2 separate regions of the Homo sapiens genome follow, and region 2 is linked to region 1. Evidence: promoter capture Hi-C in 16 types of primary human blood cells and fetal thymus (Javierre and others, 2016). All regions are on one chromosome and are shown on one strand. Each heading gives the region's core, a stretch centred on a gene start or on the middle of the fragment in contact. The rest is flanking DNA. Distances are from core to core; before and after follow the strand shown. Region 1 holds the start of PITPNM3 (PITPNM family member 3). Region 2 overlaps NLRP1 (NLR family pyrin domain containing 1).

Region 1 (4,888 bases), core at 1,717-4,216:
TTGCAGCCAGCTCCCACTCCTTACCCACCTGGAGCTCTCCAACCTGTCCACATCTCTGCACACGTCCTCCACAGCCATTGACAGGATGGGCCCCTGCTCATTTTTACTGGTTCTCTGGGCTAGATGCTTGCCTGGGCCTGGGAGCAGCTGGCCACTGTGAAGGCAGGAGCAGAACAAGCTGTGGTCAGAGGAAAGGGCCTGGGTGCCAGGTCTCAGAGAAGGGATTTGATCTGGTCTCCTGGCACAGTAACTCTGGTAACTGGGAGAGTTACTGGCACAGTAACTCTGGTAACTGGGAGGCCCCGTAGGCCCTGGCTGGCTCCTGCCTCTCTTTCCTCCGGGCAGCAGAGGTCAGCGTGGCTAAATTGCTAGTTATCCCTTTCTTCAATTAAGGACAATTCTTCTGACGCAGGAAGTTAACTCCCACCAGTTAATCTAATGGCCTTGAGTTTTGATGTGTTTGCTCTGTCAGAAGGCTGGGCTGGAACTTCCTTGGCAGCTGGTAACAGTCAGTGCCTTCAGGGGCTGCCTTAGGGGCGGACAGAGGCTGGGGTGAAGGTTTAAAGAGGGGAACCATGGATCTGGGCCTCTGAGTCGTGGTTTTCAGGGGACAGATCTGGCTTACTGTCTTCCCATCTGAGAAATGGGGTGTGGAGTGGTCTGGAGAGATGAGTTCTGAAACTCCCATCAACTTGGCACCTCCCCTTAACCGCTCCACCCAGGCCCTTCTGGGTGACTAGTTTAGGGTTTGTGAGGACTAAGTGGTGGGAGGGGAAGGGGTCTGGGTGCCCACCCAGGGAGCATCTGTCAGCAGGTGTTTGCCTGTGTTTGTGTGTACGAGTGTGCCTACACACACCCATGCATGCATCCCTAAGCACACACAAGCACACACACATACACCCCATGCACACATACCCAGGCACACACACAAACACAACGTGAAGCTGTGCCCAGAAGCAGGAGGGCCCTTGATGCCCTCTGGTCACTGCTGCTACTGTGAGCCAGGGCTGGGGAGGAGCTCAGGCCCAGGCGTGTCCCCTCTGTGGCAGGCGCATTGCTTCTTCTGCAGCCAGCGTTCTGTCTCCTGCGTGACCACTCACACCTACAGACCAGGTGGCCAAGCCTGGACATTGTCCAGGCTATCAGGCCTCTGAAACACCTCAGGGAAGGGTGAGGCCAGTGAGGCCCAGTAGACAAAGCACAGGGGCCTGAAATTGATCCTCCATGACCACAAGCACCGAACTTTCTTAGCCCCCACTTCGTTATGTGTATGCTGAGGATAACGCAATGTAGCTGAGAGAGTACATGAGGGTAAATACCGCCTGTTCAATCAATAGTCCTTGTTATTCTCATCCCCAGTCCCATTCTCATAGTGGGGAAAGGCTGCAGGGTCCATTCCTGCTCTCCCAGCTGGTGACCAATGGCAGGTGCTGGTGAACAGCGTTGGATTCAGGAGCCCAGAGCTTCTGAAATTCTACATCTGTTGGAGTTGGTGCTGTCATCTGGCTCTGGGATCCAGAGCTCTTGGGACTCATGGGTTTCCTGGGAGGTGAGCTCTGGCAAACGTGGATGGTTGTTCTCCCTGGGTGAATCCATACTAGGGAGTTTGGGTAGAAGGCCTTGGGAAGCCCTGGTTTTGTTGGGTGAGGTGTCGGAAGGCAGAGCAGAACTCATGGATGGGACATGCGGGTTGTAGATTTCAGCTCAAACGAGTAAGAACATTCTTAAGGCCAGCACTAGCCAAAAAAAAAAAAAAAAAATTAATAAAAGGAAGAACTCTCACTTAAGATACTGAGCTTCCTGTCCTTGGAGGTAACCAACCAGGAGCTGGAGGACTGCTTAGCAGGAATCTTGTGAATGGAGTCAAAGCCCCAGAGAAGGCACTGGACTGAGAGCCCCCATCTAACCCCATGTGTGCCCTGTTTCCATAGAGGAGCTTGCAGGACCCTGGAGCCTGGACCATGGATGGAATTCTCCAGTTGACCTTTTCCCTGTTAAGTGGAGTGGGACAGGGTGGGTTGGGTGCCTGGCTCTACAGATGGTAACTGGGCTTCAGCCTTACCAATTCCTGGGGGAGGCAGGGCACCCTCTCAGTGGAGGGTTGTTACCTCTCAGGCACCGCCAAATACAATTGGCCATCTCCTGCTCTCTTTTGGGGCTGGACTGTGGATCCCTGCTGCCCCTAAACAGAAGTCATAACCCATATCTCCCCGGACCACAAGGCCTGTCCACTAGAATCTCTGCATCCCGATTTAGGAAGTGGAAGGCGGGTACTGCTCACCACCAGGCCGCTGGGGTCCACAAAGCCTGCTCCAGCCTAGAACCCCAGGTGGATGTGCAAGTGTTTTACTTATCCCTTGAGGGTTAAAATCACGGGAATCCTTTCTCTTTTGAGGTTAGGTCAGACGCCATAAATGATCCAGAACCCCTGGAGCGGGGGCTGATGGAGGGGGTCCCTCTCTTGTCTCTGATCCCAGAGCGACTTTCCTCTTGACTTCGTGGGGGCCTCCCTTGGATCCCTGTCCTCCTTCCTCTCTCCGCTCCCTCTGTCCGTCTCTCCCGGAGCCGGAGCCGGGCTCTGGGTCTCTGGTCTCCTCTGAATTTCTCTCTCTCTCCCTCCACCTCGGCGTTCTGGCCCTAGGAGCGTCTCTCTCCAGCGCTGTCTAATAGTCTGTGCGCCCCTCTCCCAGTCCAGGGCCCCGTCTCTGGCCCGCAGTGTCTCGGGCTGTCTCCGCGTCTCTGAGCCCCTGGGCTGCCGCCCCTCGCGCGCTGCGGTGGCCGCGCGGGCCGGAGCGGAGCGGGCTGGAGCGCGGCGGCCACGGCCCGGGGCGGGGGTGCGGGCCCGCGGGGGCGGCGTTGGGCGCCTTCCTTCGTCAGTCCCTCCCCGGCGGCGCGGGGGGTGGGGTGGGGGGGGGGCGCGGCCGCCGCTCGGCGCCTTTAAGGGAGCGGGAGGGAGCGGCGAGGCGGCGGCGGCTGCGGTGGCGGCAGCCGAGGCGAGCGGGGCGGGGGCGCGGGCGCGGCGCTCGGAGTCCGTTCGGGGCCGGAGGCGGTCGGGGCCGGGCCCGGGAAGCGCGAGGAGCGCGCGTAGCGCCGCCGGAGCCCGCCGCCCGGGACATGGCCAAGGCGGGCCGTGCAGGTGAGGGCGGGCGCGGGGAGGGCAGGGCCGGGGCCCGGGGGAGGGACTCGCGCGTCTAGAGGAGGGGCCGCCGGCCCAGGTGAACCCCTCGCGCAGGTGGGCGGAGGTCCCGGGAGGGCGTAGGGGGCGGTAGCGGGGCTGGACCTCCCGCGCGTGGAGAGGGGGCTCCGCGCGCCCCCCGTCCTTCCTGCGCCCCCGGTCACCTCGGGGGACACCGCGTCCCCTTCTCCACGGCCCCGCCGGAAAGGGCCAGGTCTGCGGCGCCCCGGGCCAGTCCCGCCGTTGGGAGCCCTCTGCACCCCGCGGAGGCCCCGGGCAGACCCGGGCTTCGCCACCGAAGGGGATGTCCCGCGGCCGCCGCTTCGTCCCACACCCCAACGCAAACCGGGACGCGCCCCCTGCTCCTGCAGCTCTCTCCATCCAGGACGCCACAACCCCCCGCCCCAGCCCCCGTCACCAGCTCAGTCCAGAGACCCAGATTCCTTCTCGGGAAGGAGGGGAGCCCCGTGCCGCGCCGGCTGCTGGCCGCCCCGCCCCCTCCCCCATCGACCCTGGGACGCAAAGCCTCAGCTGCGGAGGCCTCTTCTGGGGTCCCGTGGGCTCTGCCCTCCCCCAGGCTCAGACGGTGTAGCCTGTGGTTTGAGGGAGCGGGCATTAGTCATTCGTTCATTCATCCAGCCCGACGTTCATTCACTAGCATCTGCTCTGTGCCAGACCCTGAGCTGGGCACCGGGGCTCAGGCGGACTCAGCCCCCCTGCTGCGCCCATGCTGGGGAGACCCAGGCCCGTGACTCATCGGGCACATTCTGGGCCCGATGGTGCCTTGGGAGGCGGGTGGAGGACAGCTGTGCCCACAGGGCCGGCCATACAGTAGGCGGCAGCAAGCCTGGTCTCGGCAGTGCCTCTTGTGAGGCTGGCGTGTGAGAATCTACCATGAACTCACACCCAACCCGTGACGTTGGCTGGTGCCATGCCGTCCCCCAGGACCGGGCGCGACAGTGAAGGAATGGGTGTGAATACCATCGGGCTGTGTGTCAATCCACCCCCAAGCCCGAAAGCTGCCCGGGACCCTGGGCTGCGGACCCGTCTCCCTGTGCAGGCACTGAGCCTGTAAGATTTAGGTGCCTGAGAATGCACTCCCGTTCTGTCCCCAAGGAGTCCTGTCGGGGTGGGGCCGGTTGTGTGAGGCACAGCCAGTATGGAACACAGCTAAACAGCCTTCTCACTCCCCTCCCTTTTCCCCTCCTGAGGGAGGCACTGTGAGATGACACCAAGGAAGCTGAAAAAGGCTTCTTGCCTCCCTCTTTCCTCCACCGTGCCTGGGTCCTCACCCACCCCGACTCCTTAAAATGGCCTGTGGCAGGGCGTGTGTCCCATCTGCTGCCCTACCCTGTGTGTGTGTGAGTGTGTGTGTGCACTGGGACGCCTTGAGCACAGGTCACCTGCCAGGGCACTGTCATCGCAACGGCAGTGAACATTTGCTGCTTGTTCTATGTATTAGGCAGAGTGCTAAGCTCTTTACTGTACCGTGATCCTGGGAGGGAGGAAATGCGACTCTCCCACTTTTAAAACATCTAGAAACAGATACTCAGAGAAATAGCAGCCTCAAGGTGGCTTAGAGGGTCTGGGCAGAGCCTGGACTCACAGCCAGGTCTATTGGACTCGAAGGACTCTCTCTGTCACTGCCCTGATAGGTCACCCCCTTACCAAATGGGGGTGCCAGTCTCAGTCCCTCTGCCTTAGCCTGTGGGT
Region 2 (5,472 bases), core at 2,907-5,406, 1.0 Mb after region 1:
TTCAAATTGCTCAATTGTCTAAAACATGTTCTTATAGTTGGTGTTGTGGTTTGGTTGGGTTTGGTTTGATTTGGTTTTGAGACAGAGTCTTGCTCTGTCACTCAGGCTGGAGTGCAATGGCACAATCTTGGCTTACCTCAACCTCCACCTCCCAGGTTCAAGCGATTCTCCAGCCTCAGCCTCTCTAGTAGCTGGGACTACAGTCACATGCCACCACGTGTGAAAAATGAAAATTGTATTTTTAGTAGAGATGGGGGTTTCACCATATTGGACAGGCTGGTCTCGAACTCCTGACCTCAGACGATCCACCTTCCTCAGCCTCCCAAAGTGCTGGGATTACAGGCGTGAGCCACCGCGCCTGGCCAGTTGGTGTGTTCTTATCAGGATCCAAACAAGGTCCACTCATTTTATTTTCTTTGTTATATTTCTTAAATCTCACTTAACTCTCTTAATCTGTATGCTCCTGTTTTATTAACAGCCACTAATGAGCTAAGGACTGTACTAGTAGCTGGGGACCCTAAGATGAATATGGCAGCCCTGCCCTCCCAGGGCTTACAGTCGCACTAGTAGTAATTCTCTATAGTCATACTCATGATCTCTTATATAACATGTTACCACTCACCAAACACTGCCACAGACATCATCTCAACCAGGAGACAGCGTCACTCCCAGCTCACACCTACAGAAGCTGGGGCATCCCGGGACCCACTATTAACCCACCTGAGGAGCCTTGGGAAAATCACTTCTGATCTCTATAAAAGTGTTGTTTCCAATTCTAAGGGTTTAGCATTAATATTAGCACATACGGCCAGGCATAGTGGCTCATGCCTATAATCCCAGCACTTTAAGAGACCGAGGCAGGAGGATCACTTGAGTCCAGGAGTTCAAGGCCAGCCTGGACAACATGGCAAAACCTTGTGTCTACAAAAATTACCAAAAAAATTAGCTGGACGTGGTGACATGTACCTGTAGTCCTAGCTACTCAGGGAGCTGAGGTGGAAGAATTGCCTAAGCCAGGGATTTCGAGGCTGCAGTGAACCAAGATCGGGCCACTGCGCTCCAGCCTGGGCAACAGAGTGAGACCATATTTCCATAGATTAGATAGATAGATAGATAGATAGATAGATAGATAGATAGATAGATAGATAGATTAGATAGATTAGATAGATAGATAGATAGACAGACAAGACAAGACAGATAATCTTAGCACATATATTGTTATTAATTATTGCTAAATAGGCCCCTTACATATACGAACACTTGTTATTTCATCATTACCATCATTGCCATCATCAACATAGTAGAAACAGTTCACAGCTCCCAGGCGTGTACTAAGCTGTGAGCATGCATTAAGTCACTTATTCTCGTAACTAGGAGATGGGAGCTATAATTACTCCTACTTACAGATGAGGAAACCAAAAACAGGAAGGTTAAATGACTTGCTCAGGGATCCACAGTCAAGAGCAGAAGAGCCAGGACTAAAATGCAAGTCCATCTGATTCCGAAGTCTGGGCTTGAAGCCACTGTACCGTATCCGCAAGCCCCTGCATGGGGTCTGGCATCCAGCAGGTGCTCAGTGAGTTCGTGCAGTAAGTGTCTGCCTCTCCCTCTTCTTCCCAGAGTTCACTTCCCTGTAGCTGGCTCCTACCGCTGGCCCAACACGGGTCTCTGCTTTGTGATGAGAGAAGCGGTGACCGTTGAGATTGAATTCTGTGTGTGGGACCAGTTCCTGGGTGAGATCAACCCACAGCACAGCTGGATGGTGGCAGGGCCTCTGCTGGACATCAAGGCTGAGCCTGGAGCTGTGGAAGCTGTGCACCTCCCTCACTTTGTGGCTCTCCAAGGTAAACAACAGGGAAGGATAGGGAGGAAGGTGGTGGTAATTATGGGCCTGAAAGGGAGTGTAGAATGATAATCTCCTGGGAGAGGGTGTTGTGGCTTCCTTAGAGGGGCCGAGGGGGGGTTATGGAGATGGGGACTAAGATTTTCCTGCATTCCACTCTTCTCTGGACTTATCTTTTTGAAACACATCTCCCAGCCTCATAATTATATCTGCCTAAACTTACTTGAAAGTTTTTATTAAGTGTCATTTATATAGACTGTATCACTCAAGGTCCCAGCAGGAAAGAGATGATATGCTCAGTTGAGATTTTTGAAGAAGCTTTTCAAAGACAGGACCATTTACAAAGTAAGGCTAAGTGAACTAACGAAGAATGTTGGGGCAACAGGGACTAGCAACAATAGGAAGCCATCACTACTCCTACAGGCAGGGAGAAGAAACAGTGTCATCAGACGCCATCTGAGAGCTGGAGCCATGAAACAGGGGCTTCCCATAGAAGATAGTAATCACAAAGTATGATTTTATGTCACCTCCAAAGACTTCCCACAGAGTTCCAAGAAATATCAGCTAACAGTCAAAAATCTCACAAAGGGGAAACAAGGCACCAGAAGTAAGAGCCAGCAGAAACGACAGATACCAGAATCAGTCCCTTAAATCCTTCAGATGCTGAAATTATCAGAAAAAGAACATAAAATAAGTGTGTATAATATGACCAAAAAAAAAAAAGTAACCTTAAAACTATCAGCAAAAAGCAATGAACCATTAAAAATGACAAATCAAAGTTGGAAACTAAATTGACTAAAAAAAATGAAAAAACAAGGCCGGGCGCAGTGGCTCACGCCTGTGATCCCAGGACTTTGGGAGGCCGAGGAGGGCGGATCACGAGGTCAGGAGATTGCGACCATCCTGGCTAACACAGTGAAACCCCGTCTCTACTAAAAATACAAAAATTAGCCGGGCGTGGCGGCAGGCGCCTGTAGTCCCAGCTACTCGGAAGGCTGAGGCAGGAGAATGGCGTGAACCCAGGAGGTGGAGCTTGCAGTGAGCCAAGATCGCACCACTGCACTCCAGCCTGGGCCACAGAGCGAGACTCTGTCTCAAAAAAAAAAAAAAAAGAATAAACAATCAAGTAACTTGTAGGATACCATGATAAGTCCTAATATATATCTAAATGGAATTCCAGAAAGATAAGATAGAAGGGAAAAAAATAGAATATTCAACAAGACAATTGCAAACAAATTTCTGGAAGTATTGAGACATATGAGACTTCTCAGAATGAGAATCCCCAAAACTGCAATGCAGGAAAGAGAGAGAGAAGGGAGAGAAAAAATCAAGATTAGTCTCATTAATGTGAAACTACAGAATAAGAAAGTATGAGGGAAAGCCTTGACATCAGCCAGAAAGAAAGGGTTATAGGTGTGAGCCACTGTGCCCAGCCAATGTCTGTCAATTTAGTGAGCAAGTTAGAAGAATCTGATGTGTCCCCATGTCAAATCATGACTCCAATAGAAGCTTCATTTAATTGCTGATAAAATGATTTGATAAACAATTTATGTTATAGCTTACATCAGTTATAAGCACTTTTATGATTTGTACAGTTTAGCTAGATATTAAATGGGTTTTTAATATTTTTTCTTGTCTTAATTTCTTTATTTCCCAGGAATAGAGGTAAATGAGAATTTATTTTTAATTTCTCATTTGTTAGTTGATATGTTGTAGTATCATCCCAGTAGTTCAATGTATTTTTAGTATCACCTCAAAATAAAGGTATTAACTTTACAGTATGCATATATTAAGGTAATCAAGGCATATATATAAGAAAAATTATTTAGAAGCTAGTAGAAAGAGAAAAATCAAATGAGAAAAATAAAAAGCAGGGAACTGCTCAGTACCCAGAACCAGGAAAGTCTTGTTTGTTGAGGCCACAAAAGTTCAGTAAACAATTCAAGCTGCACACCAGGAGGAGAGCATGGGGCAGGGAAATAGAGTCCCGGGGGCCTCAGGATCCCTGGGGCACCTGGTTGAACAGTCAGGGTCATATGGGCATTCCCTAGGGAAGGTCCCAGACTAAAACAGAATAGAGGGAAGAGGTGCAAGACAGCTCTGGAATTGTAGAGGTCCATTTAGAAAGGAAGAGATTGAGGAGAGGAAACTGATGGCTGAAACAAGAAGCTGGGACAAGTTACTTGTTCCCACCGGGCAATCTATAGAGTAATGAACACAGCCACTACCACAACCAGCCTGCCTCTTCCACAAGTGAGACCGTGGCCAGGGATCCCCAGGTACTCTATCAAGAAGAGAGGGGCCTGGCTAATAGAGTCAGTGGGCTCAGCTCTGTCGTAGCTCTGCCCATGACCAGCAGCAAAAGAACTTGGCTTGCCCCAACCTGGGATGCTCAGGGCTGCACCACCACTCCCTGCTCTAACCAGGGTATTCCAGGAGAAACCTCATGCAGCTAAGGTCTGGAGCCAGAATGTACCACCAGGGCCCGAGGGGACAAAGTCTGCCTTCAGGTCCTGCTCCAGCGCCCCCTCATTCCCCACTCTCAGAGGTGGATGAGCTGGCCCTCCCCATTGTGAGGACTCCCAGGCCATGCCCTGCTCAGTCTCCTGCGTGCATCAAGTGGGCCTGGGAGACGGGATTTGTCCAAGGAATTGGGTGACCCTCCGAGTGCACAGGCATCTAGCTGAAGCCTGCCAGGCTGACAGCCAAATCAGAATAGGAATGAATTCACTGTGCTTGTGGCACTGTCCTTTGTGGCACTGGAACTTGGCCAATAAGAACTGTGAACAATAACTGAGCATCCTGTGCCTGGAACCATGCAAGGTAGTTCCGTATATATTAATATCATCTCTTTTTTCATAATGAACCGGGAAATTAGGCACTACAGTTTTCCCTTGGTGTACCAGTGAGGAAACTGAAGCCGAGAGAGGTGAAGACCCTCTTCCAGAGTTGGGATTCTATCCCAAGTCCTGTTTATCCCAGGCTAAGAGCTACACCCCTACCCCTCCCCAGTCCTGCCCAAGCCCATGTCCCACTAGCCTTCTCTAGACCAAATTCTGAGCCTCACCTTGTGGCCAGATAGGATTTACTCCCTTTGGACTCCGTACACAAGCTTGTACAACCTGCGGCCTGTGGGCCACATGCGGCCCAGGATGGCTTTCGATGAAGCCCAACGTGAATTCGTAAACTTTCTTAAAACATTATGAGACTTTCTTGCGAATTTTTTAAAGCTCACCAGCTATCATTAGTGTTAGTATATTTTACATGTGTGGCCCAAGACAATTCTTCTTCTTCCAATGTGACCCAGGGAAGCCAAAAGATTGGACACCCCTGCCACAGAACAAGAGGCAAAATGCACAGAGGCTGCTTTTAGCTAGCTGTGACCAGCCAGGAAACCAATCCCTGGGGCCGGGCAGGGCCCCTTCCAGAAATGCTTGCTGCCTGCTGTCTGGGCTGCAGCTGTTCATTGCCCTGGAAACGATGACCTCACTGCCTGACACAGGGTCTGATTTAGGACTTGGGCACTGGTGCTTCATCACTGTCGTCGCTGAACGGGTGATGAGTCATTAACTTTCCATGGTGAGTTTTCTCCCACTATAGCTAGAGCTTGAGGCTTTCAGCCTCTCAGC

Evidence for each region. Contacts are between HindIII fragments. The CHiCAGO score rates a contact against its expected background, and 5 or more counts as called.
Region 2: a fragment that was not itself captured here is called in contact with the fragment with the promoter of PITPNM3 in region 1 in 4 of 17 cell types (M1 macrophages, M2 macrophages, M0 macrophages and 1 more); the score reaches 8.8 in M1 macrophages.

The regions. Positions count from the first base shown.
Region 1 is chr17:6,554,633-6,559,520 of GRCh38, reverse strand. PITPNM3 (PITPNM family member 3) reads left to right here and starts at 2,966. Exons shown (of 20, transcript NM_031220.4): 1 at 2,966-3,136. The coding sequence starts at 3,115. RefSeq lists an enhancer at 4,055-4,701. The HindIII fragment of the contact is 11,474 bases long and covers 1-4,888 here.
Region 2 is chr17:5,526,853-5,532,324 of GRCh38, reverse strand. It overlaps NLRP1 (NLR family pyrin domain containing 1), which reads left to right. Exons shown (of 17, transcript NM_033004.4): 12 at 1,621-1,844. The region is part of intron 1 of LOC124903902 (a long non-coding RNA gene); the gene reads right to left. Among named protein-coding and RNA genes, the nearest start is that of MIS12, 43 kb to the right of the region's middle. The HindIII fragment of the contact is 1,603 bases long and covers 3,355-4,957 here.